Regions from separate parts of the Homo sapiens genome. Here region 2 is linked to region 1. The links are contacts of gene promoters, found by promoter capture Hi-C in human tissues and cell types (Jung and others, 2019). All regions are on one chromosome and are shown on one strand. The core of a region is centred on a gene start or on the middle of the fragment in contact, and the rest is flanking DNA. Distances in the headings are between cores, read along the strand shown.

The links. The method cuts DNA at HindIII sites, captures the fragments that hold promoters and counts their contacts. A contact is called where the count stands out against the background at its distance.
Region 2: a fragment that was not itself captured here is called in contact with the fragment with the promoter of DNAH17 in region 1 in 2 of the 25 tissues and cell types used here (lymphoblastoid cells and mesenchymal stem cells).

The regions. Positions count from the first base shown.
Region 1 is chr17:78,575,723-78,579,749 of GRCh38, reverse strand. It overlaps DNAH17 (dynein axonemal heavy chain 17), which reads left to right and starts at 2,354. Exons shown (of 81, transcript NM_173628.4): 1 at 2,354-2,455. The HindIII fragment of the contact is 13,821 bases long and covers 1-4,027 here.
Region 2 is chr17:78,832,283-78,836,604 of GRCh38, reverse strand. It overlaps USP36 (ubiquitin specific peptidase 36), which reads left to right. Exons shown (of 21, transcript NM_001385174.1): 3 at 233-494; 4 at 1,104-1,325. The coding sequence starts at 242. Among named protein-coding and RNA genes, the nearest start is that of USP36, 6.4 kb to the left of the region's middle. The HindIII fragment of the contact is 6,692 bases long and covers 1-4,322 here.

The sequences.
Region 1 (4,027 bases), core at 1,105-3,604:
CATGCCTCCCCTTTTTAGACCATCTAGGGTAACTTCCTGACATTGCCATGGCATTTGCAAACTGTTACGGTGCTGGTGGGAGTGTAGCAGTGAGGACCACCAGAGGTCATCTTGGTTTTGGTGGGCTTTGGCCAGCTTCTTTACCGCAACCTGTTTTATCAGCAAGCTCTTTATGACTTGTGCTGAACCCCCGTCTCACCCTGTGACTAAGAATGCCTTCACCTCCTGGGAATGCAGTAGGGCCTTATTTTACCCAGACCCCATTCAAAATGGAGTGGCTCTGGTTCAAATGCCTCTGACGGCCCCATTAAAAAATAAATTCCTATTCTCCCTCCCTAGCCCTTGGCAACCTCCATTCTACTTAATGAATTTGACTACTCTAGGGACCTCATTGAAGTTCATTTTACTTTGATTTGCATTTTCCTAATGGCTAATGATATCAAGCTGCTTTCCATGTGCATACTGGTCATTTGTGTATCTTTCTTGAAGAAATATCTATATCCTTTACTCCTTAAAATTAGGTTGTTTTATTGTATTACGACAAGTCCCTTGTCAGATATATGATTTGCAAATATTTTCTCCCATTCTATGGGTCATCTTTTCCCTTTTTTAGGGTGCCTTTTGAAGCATAAAAGTTTTTGGTTTTGATGAAGTTAAACTTATCTTTTTTCCTTTGCTCACTTATGCTTTTGGCATCATATGTAAGACATCATTGCCTCATCTGAGGTCAGATCAACTCCTGTGTGCTCTTCTAAGAGTTTTATAGTTTTAGCTCTTACATTTGGCTCTTGCATTCTGTTAATCTATGCTGAGTTAATTCGTGTAGATGGCGTGAGGTAAGGGCCCAGCTTCGTTTTTCCGCATGTGGGTATTCAGTTATTCCAATACCATTTGTTGAAAAGGTGATTCTTTTCCCATTGAGTTGTCTTGGCACCTTTGCTAACTCAATCGTCCATAAATGGATGCATTTATTTCTGGAACCTCAATTCTATTCTAGTGATCTCTGTCTATTGTTATGCTGGTAGCACTGTCTTGATAACTGTAGCTTTGTAGTGAGTTTTGAAATCAGGAAGTGTGTGTCTTCAGACTTTGTTCTTTTTCAAAGTTGTTTGGATGGTTTTTGTTCCCTCATACTTCCCTATAAAATCTAGGGTCATTTCTACAAAAAAGGCAGCTGAGAGTTTGATAAGGATTGTGTTGAATCTGCAGATCAACTTGAGGAGAACTGTCGTCATCTTAACAATCTTCTTTTTTTTTTTTTTTTGAGACGGAGTCTCACTCTGTCTCCCAGGCTGGAGGGCAATGGCGGGATCTCGGCTCACTGCAAGCTCCGCCTCCCAGGTACATGCCATTCTCCTGCCTCAGCCTCCTGAGTAGCTGGAACTACAGGCACCCACCACCACGCCCGGCTAATTTTTTTGTATTTTTAGTAGAGATGGGGTTTCACCGTGTTAGCCAGGATGGTCTCGATCTCCTGACCTCGTGATCCACCCGCCTTGGCCTCCCAAAGTGCTGGGATTACAGGCGTGAGCCATCACGCCTGGCCCGTCTTAACAATCTTCTAACCCATGAACACAGCATGTCCTTCCATTGATTTAGGTTGTCTTTATTTCCATGATGTTTTGCAGTTTTCAGTGTACAAGTCTTAACACTTCTTTTTAAAGTTTATTCCTAAGTATTTTGTTGTTTTTGACGCTATTGTAAACGAAATTATTTTGATGCTGTTGTAAATGGGAGTTGTTTTCTAAATTTCATGATCAGATTGTTCATTATGGGGACAATTGTTTTCTAAATTTCATCATCAGATTGTTCATAATATAATTACAGAGAAATATAATTAATTTTCAAATATCTTGTATACTGCAAACTTGCTGAATTCCTCTATTAGCTCTACAATTTTATGGATTTCTTGGGATTTTCTACATACAAGATCACCTTATTGTAAACAGAGATAATGTCTTCCTTTCCACTTTGGGAGGATTGCTTGAGGCCAGGAGTTTGAGACCAGCCTGGGCAACAGAGTGAGACCTCATCTCTACAAAAAGTACAAAAATTAGCCAGGTGTGGTGATGTGCGTCTGTTGTCCTAACTTCTCAGGAGGCTGAGGGGGGGGGATCACGTAAGCCCAGGAGTTTGAGGCTGCAGTGAGTTATGATTGTACCACTGCACTCCAGCCTGGGTAACAGAGCGCGACCCTGTCCCCCCTCCAACCTCCCCTCAAAATGATCATCTAAGAGCCTTTCCACTGTGGGGTGACGGTTGGTTCCTCATTTGCTGCGCTATCATTGGTTACTTGGGTCCCAAGGGGAAGGTTCTAGAAGCCCCAGGTACCGTGAGGAGACTCCCAGAAGTTATGTGGCAGTTGGAGCCCCTCGAGGGAAGGGAGCCATTTTCTTTCCTGGTTTGGGAAAGAGTTGCTCATCAGTTTGCGGGAGAAGCTGTTTGCCTTCAGCTGGTGAGCGGCCTTCAACCATGCTGGGGGAGTCGGAGGCCAAGGTGGAGGGAGCAGGGAGGCCTTCAGAGGATGGAGGTGGGACCTAGGCCCTGGCAGACAGCAGACCCTCCACTTACCCCAGAAGTGGCTCTGCTCGCCACCGGGAGCTGTTCATGGCTCTGGGACCCCGAGGCTGGCTGCCACGTACCAGCCTGACCCCTTCCAGGGCTCCAGACTCTTCCCTGCTCCTGGGAAGGCCTTGCCTCAGCCCCCTGGCTTCTCCTGGAAGCCCCTAGCCCCAGCTTCCTCCTGTGGAGTCCTGAAGGCCTGGGGCATGGGCCACCTCCCAGAGAAGCCGTCTCTGCCCCTCCGGAAGCATGGCCTGGGACAACCCTATTGTTAACTGGGACCTCCTGGCCTTCAGCCCAGGAAACGGCTGGGTGGGAGCCTGAGATGAGACCTCCCGATCGTGCAAGAAACTTGCGGGGTGTAGGGGCCCCTCAGCCCACACATGTTATGGCTTGGGAGGCAGCCCACCCCATGCCGTTCTTGGAAGAAAAGATGACTTTGTGAAAGCCCAAATCCACAAAATCAGTAAACCAGAGGATGTTTCCCTCCAGTCCAGTCGCCTGACCAGCTTGGCGAGACTTCCAATCAGGAACCTTCCAGGACTCGGGCTCCCCTGAGTTCCTGATCCCCCTAGGAAATGACGACGTGACGCGTCCCCGGGTCTCGGAGATCCTGGGTGGAGATTAATTCAGCAGCATGCTGAAAGCCCTGTGGGAACCTGGTGAACGAGTCATCTCCATAAATGCCACGCGGTGCTCCTCCTACTTGCCTGGTGGTGTCCCCTTTTTCTTTCACAGATGTGCCTGAATCGGGTGGCTTTGCTCGTGGACCGCCATGTTTCTGCCATTTGCTGGCCAAATATTCCCCAAGTCCTCTCTCAGAGATGTTTGGAGCCTTGAATAAATCTCAGACCATTTGAATAGCATCCAAATGCTATCCACTACTGCTTCCCATCATATAGTTGTTTTGCCGATATATAGTGGCCAGGGTGAAATAAACCTGTTCCGTGGTATTACGTGTCTTTTGGGGAACTGTAGGCTGTTACAAACTTAAAAGCAATAGCTTGGGTCAAACCAAAAGGCAGAATTTGTGAGTGCTTCCAACGTCATCTGTCCACCCTGATGCTTTTCAGCAGCTGCCAGGTCTGGAGCAGGCCAGCCCCAGCCCACGGACCCCCAGAGCAGCTGAATACCCCAGGGTTCCCCTTGAAATTCAGGAGCTGCATACCTCCCAGATTGTGATGAAAACACAGCATCAGGCGACCCTTTGCATTCAACCCTGCCCTTGCAGAACTCGCCTCCAAGGCCCCCACCTCAGGCCTCTTGCCAGAGCCTGTCTTTATTTGAAACTTTGGTATTTTGTTCATAAATTTGTTTGCATTCATTTTGATGTTTAAAAATATTGACATGCCTTTTCTCTTGATGACTGTTTGGGTGTGTCTTTAAATTCTGTAAGTACCTCACTTGCCTAAACTTTGGGACTTCAGGGTGTTCTTTAAGGGGATCCCTTCCCCCCAATTCTCTA
Region 2 (4,322 bases), core at 1,347-3,846, 260 kb before region 1:
CTCTATTTGTAGTGGCATCTTATCTTTTTGTGGGGGAAATGTGAACTAATATGTCCAAGTGATTAGTGCTGGGTCTCCCTGTTTCCTTTGTGCAGCTGATCCAGGGGATCACTGATCCAGGGGAGCTTTTGTGGTGGCTAGCATCCATAATGACCAAAGAGGAGATCTTAAGAGATGTTTTTGTCCCGGGATTTCGTTATCTATGGCTCTATGTTTCTTCTTGTCCCCACAGTGATGCACCATGCCAATAGTGGATAAGTTGAAGGAGGCCCTGAAACCCGGCCGCAAGGACTCGGCTGATGATGGAGAACTGGGGAAGCTTCTTGCCTCCTCTGCCAAGAAGGTCCTTTTACAGAAAATCGAGTTCGAGCCAGCCAGCAAGAGCTTCTCCTACCAGCTGGAGGCCTTAAAGAGCAAATATGTGTTGCTCAACCCCAAAACAGAGGGAGCTAGTCGCCACAAGAGTGGAGATGACCCACCGGCCAGGAGACAGGGTACAGATGTGCAGTGTGCTGGCAGAGAGGCCCTCACTCCGGGGTGACGAAGTGGATGGACTTAAATATTGACTAATTAGTAGGAAAAACAAGAGAATGTGGTCAAAGAGTTATGAATTTTTACATGGGGTCAGTGGATTTCAGTTATAGAAGTAATGATACAGGGTTGGTAGCAAGGAAATCTGTGTGCTTGGTGGATCTGTGTACTTGGTGGGTCCTTGGACTTGCTGTCCCCCTATCCCAAGTATAATACAGTCGAAAGTCAGGCTTGGAACTAAGAAAGAGAAATGGGGTGGGCTGCATGTGGGCACAGTGTGGTGCAGAGTGCCAGGCCTGGCTCCTTCCGCCACTCAGTCTCTGAGCTGTGTCCTCCATCTATAGAGGGGCCCTTGAATTCTTTAGCCAAGCAGCCTAGGAGGTCCGTGGGATGGCTGGGTTTACTCCTGAGCTTTCCAGGAATGTCCTGTAAACCAGAACACCAGTTCTTCTCTGGTGCCATGTTCCGAGTCACTGCATGCTAAGTGTATGCTTCAGGAGTTTCTTTTTGTGGACGACCTGTGTGTGGACTTACGTCTTCCTCTTTTCTTCCCTTGTCCCTTTCTTCCTCAGGCAGTGAGCACACGTATGAGAGCTGTGGTGACGGAGTCCCAGCCCCGCAGAAAGTGCTTTTCCCCACGGAGCGACTGTCTCTGAGGTGGGAGCGGGTCTTCCGCGTGGGCGCAGGACTCCACAACCTTGGCAACACCTGCTTTCTCAATGCCACCATCCAGTGCTTGACCTACACACCACCTCTAGCCAACTACCTGCTCTCCAAGGAGCATGCTCGCAGCTGTGAGTGTGGGTTTGCAGCAGTGGGGTGGCTGTGGGTCCTCTGGATTAGATAAGCCCATGCACTTGTGGCACTGCTGCTCTCAGTCTGGGTCAAATTTAGGAGGGTAGTTCATAATGTATAGTAACTGATGAAACCTAAATTTGAATCATGCCTGCTGCAGAATGGGCCATGAAGGTGAATCGGTCAGGTGGGGCTGTGTTCGCCAAGCTTTTCTGTAAATAATTACCCAGACAGAAACGTTTTCAAAAGATACTTCCAAAATATATATATATATATATATACAAATATTATTTTTTTAGAGACAGTATCTTGCTCTGACACCCAGGCTGGAATGCAGTGGCTCCATCACAACTCGTTGTAGTCTTGAACTCCTGGGCTCACATGATCCTCCCATCTCAGCCTCCCAAAGTGCTGGGATTATAAGTGTGAGCCACCATGCCTAGCCCAATTGTTTTATGCATCTGTTGTTGTATCAGCATATCTTATGTGTATTATAAAACGTGCAGCCTGGACAACACAGCAAGATCCCATCTCTACAAAAACAAATCAAGGCCGGGCACGGTGGCTCACACCTGTGGGAGGCAGAGGTGGGCAGATCACTTGAGGTCAGGAGTTGGAGACCAGCCTGGCCAACATGGCGAAACCCGGTTTCTACTAAAAATATAAAAATTAGGCGTGATGGGGTGCACCTGTAATCCCAGCTGCTCGGGAGGCTGAAGCAGGAGAATTGCTTGAACCCAGAAGGTGGAGGTTGCAGTGAGCTGACCAAGATCATGCCGCTGCACTCCAGCCTGGGTGACAGAGCAAGACTCCATCTCACACACACAAAAAACAAATCGAAACAATTAGCTGGATGTGGTGGTGTGCTCTATTTGATTAAAATAGAGGTGAAATAAGATATAACTTACCAAAACTGAAAGAAATAGAAAGTGAAGAGTCTTTTAACTATTAAAGAAATTAAAGCATTGGTTAAAAATCTTCCCATAAAAAACCCCAAGCAGAGACAATGTTATTTCTGTGTAACTTTTTTTTTTTTTTGAGACGGACTCTGTTGCCTAGGCTGGAGTACGGTGGTGTGATCTCAGTTCACTGCAACCTCCGCCTCCTGGGTGCAAGCAATTCTCCTGTCTCAGCCTCCCAAATAGCTGGGACTATAGACGCACGCCACCACGCCTGGCTAATTTTTGTATTTTTAGTAGAGATGGGGTTTTACCATGTTGGTCAGGCTGGTCTTGAACTCGTGACCTCAGGTGATCCAACCGCCTTGGCCTCCTAAAGTGCTGGGATTACAGGTGTGAACCACTGTGCCCAGCCAATTTCTATGTAACTTTTAAGAAACAATTCCAATCCTTTACACGTTCTTCCAAAGAATAGAGGAGGAGAGAATCTTTCCCAGCTCATTCTATAAAGTTCCTATAACTCGGATAACAATAATAAGGAAAATGCGAGAAAGAAAATGGATAACCACAACTTCTTCACGAACATAGATATAAAAATTGTAGGAAAATACTACCAAATGACACAGTTTCTAAAAAACTGTAAGCAACTTATGTTTATCCTAGGAATGCAGGATGTTTTCATCGCAGAAAATCTCTAAGTAGAATTCTGGAGGGAGCAGAGCAGTTGAAAACACAGCTCAGGAGCCTGGCCTGTAGGGTTTGCTTCCCAGTTTGCCCCTTAGTAACTGTGAGTTTTTGAGAATGTCCCTGGTCTATGGAAGAATGAGACTGTCTTCCTTACAGAGTTGCGTGAGGCTCCGATAAATTCTGAGTGAGTCAAGTGCCTGGAGTAGCAGCCCGCAAAGAGGGAGTGCTATAGAAGTGACTGCTACTGGCTGGGCACGGTGGCTCACACCTGTAATCCCAGCTACTTGGGAGGCTGAGGCAGGAGAATCACTTGAACCTGGGAGGCAGAGGTTGCATTGAGCTGAGATCACACCACTGCACTTTAGCCTGGGCAACAGAACAAGATTCCGTCTCAAAAAAACATAAAAAAAAGAACACAAGATGGCCATGCAGTGGGAAGTGTTTGTAAACATCTTGCTAATTGCGATGGCTTCATAGCAGCAAAGGTTAATTATCAAGGCATAGTTGTTGAGATGAAGCAGCACATTGTTTGGGGGCGTTTTTTGGAGATGGAGTCTCGTTCTGTCGCCCAGGCTGGAGTGCAGTGGTGCAATCTCGGCTCACTGCAACCCCCGCCTCCTGTGTTCAAGAGAGTCTCCTGCCTCAGCCTCCCAAGTAGCTGGGACTGCAGGTGCCCGCCACCACGCCTGGCTAATTTTGTATTTTTAGTAGAGACGAAGTTTCACCATGTTGACCAGGCTGGTCTTGAACTCTCGACCTCAGGTGATCTGCCTGCCTCTGCCTCCGAAAGTGCTGAGATTACAGGCATGAGCCACCGTGCCCTGCAGAAGCACATTGTTGAGATGGCTAATTGTAGCCCCTATTTCCAGTGGTGACCTTGGTAATTTTGAGGTGGTTCTGGGTGGACTTTCAGTAAGATTTGACTAGATGGCTGTTGTTTTCGTCTCATGGTTTTGGCAGTAAGACTCTGCTATCCCAGGCCTGTCAGGGCTCTTCCACTGTAGAGCTGCCTTCCATTCTTGGTTTCTCTGCAGGATCTTTTTGAGCCAGTTGCCAACTTTGTGAGGATTAATTTAGTTAAAACTAGATAATATCTGTAAATCCCCGTAACCTGGCACAGGTAAGCTGCAGTTTGTTGCAGCATGTCAGCAGCAAGCGTGTGAGTAAGGCAGCCATGGCCATCCCTTCAAGGGGAACGCCTGGTCTTCCTTCCAATACCGGTCCCATGGGCCAGTATCACTGTGAAATATTAGTGCATCTTACTATCTTGGAACATATGAAGAGACGTTGTGGCCTTTTTTTCCTGCACCCCACTGGATCCTGAGTGACCCCTAAGTGGGCTTTGGCTGTGGTCTCCCCCTCCTAGCACATGGCATTTGAAGAGTTGAGGATCCTAAGGGGTGTTTGTTC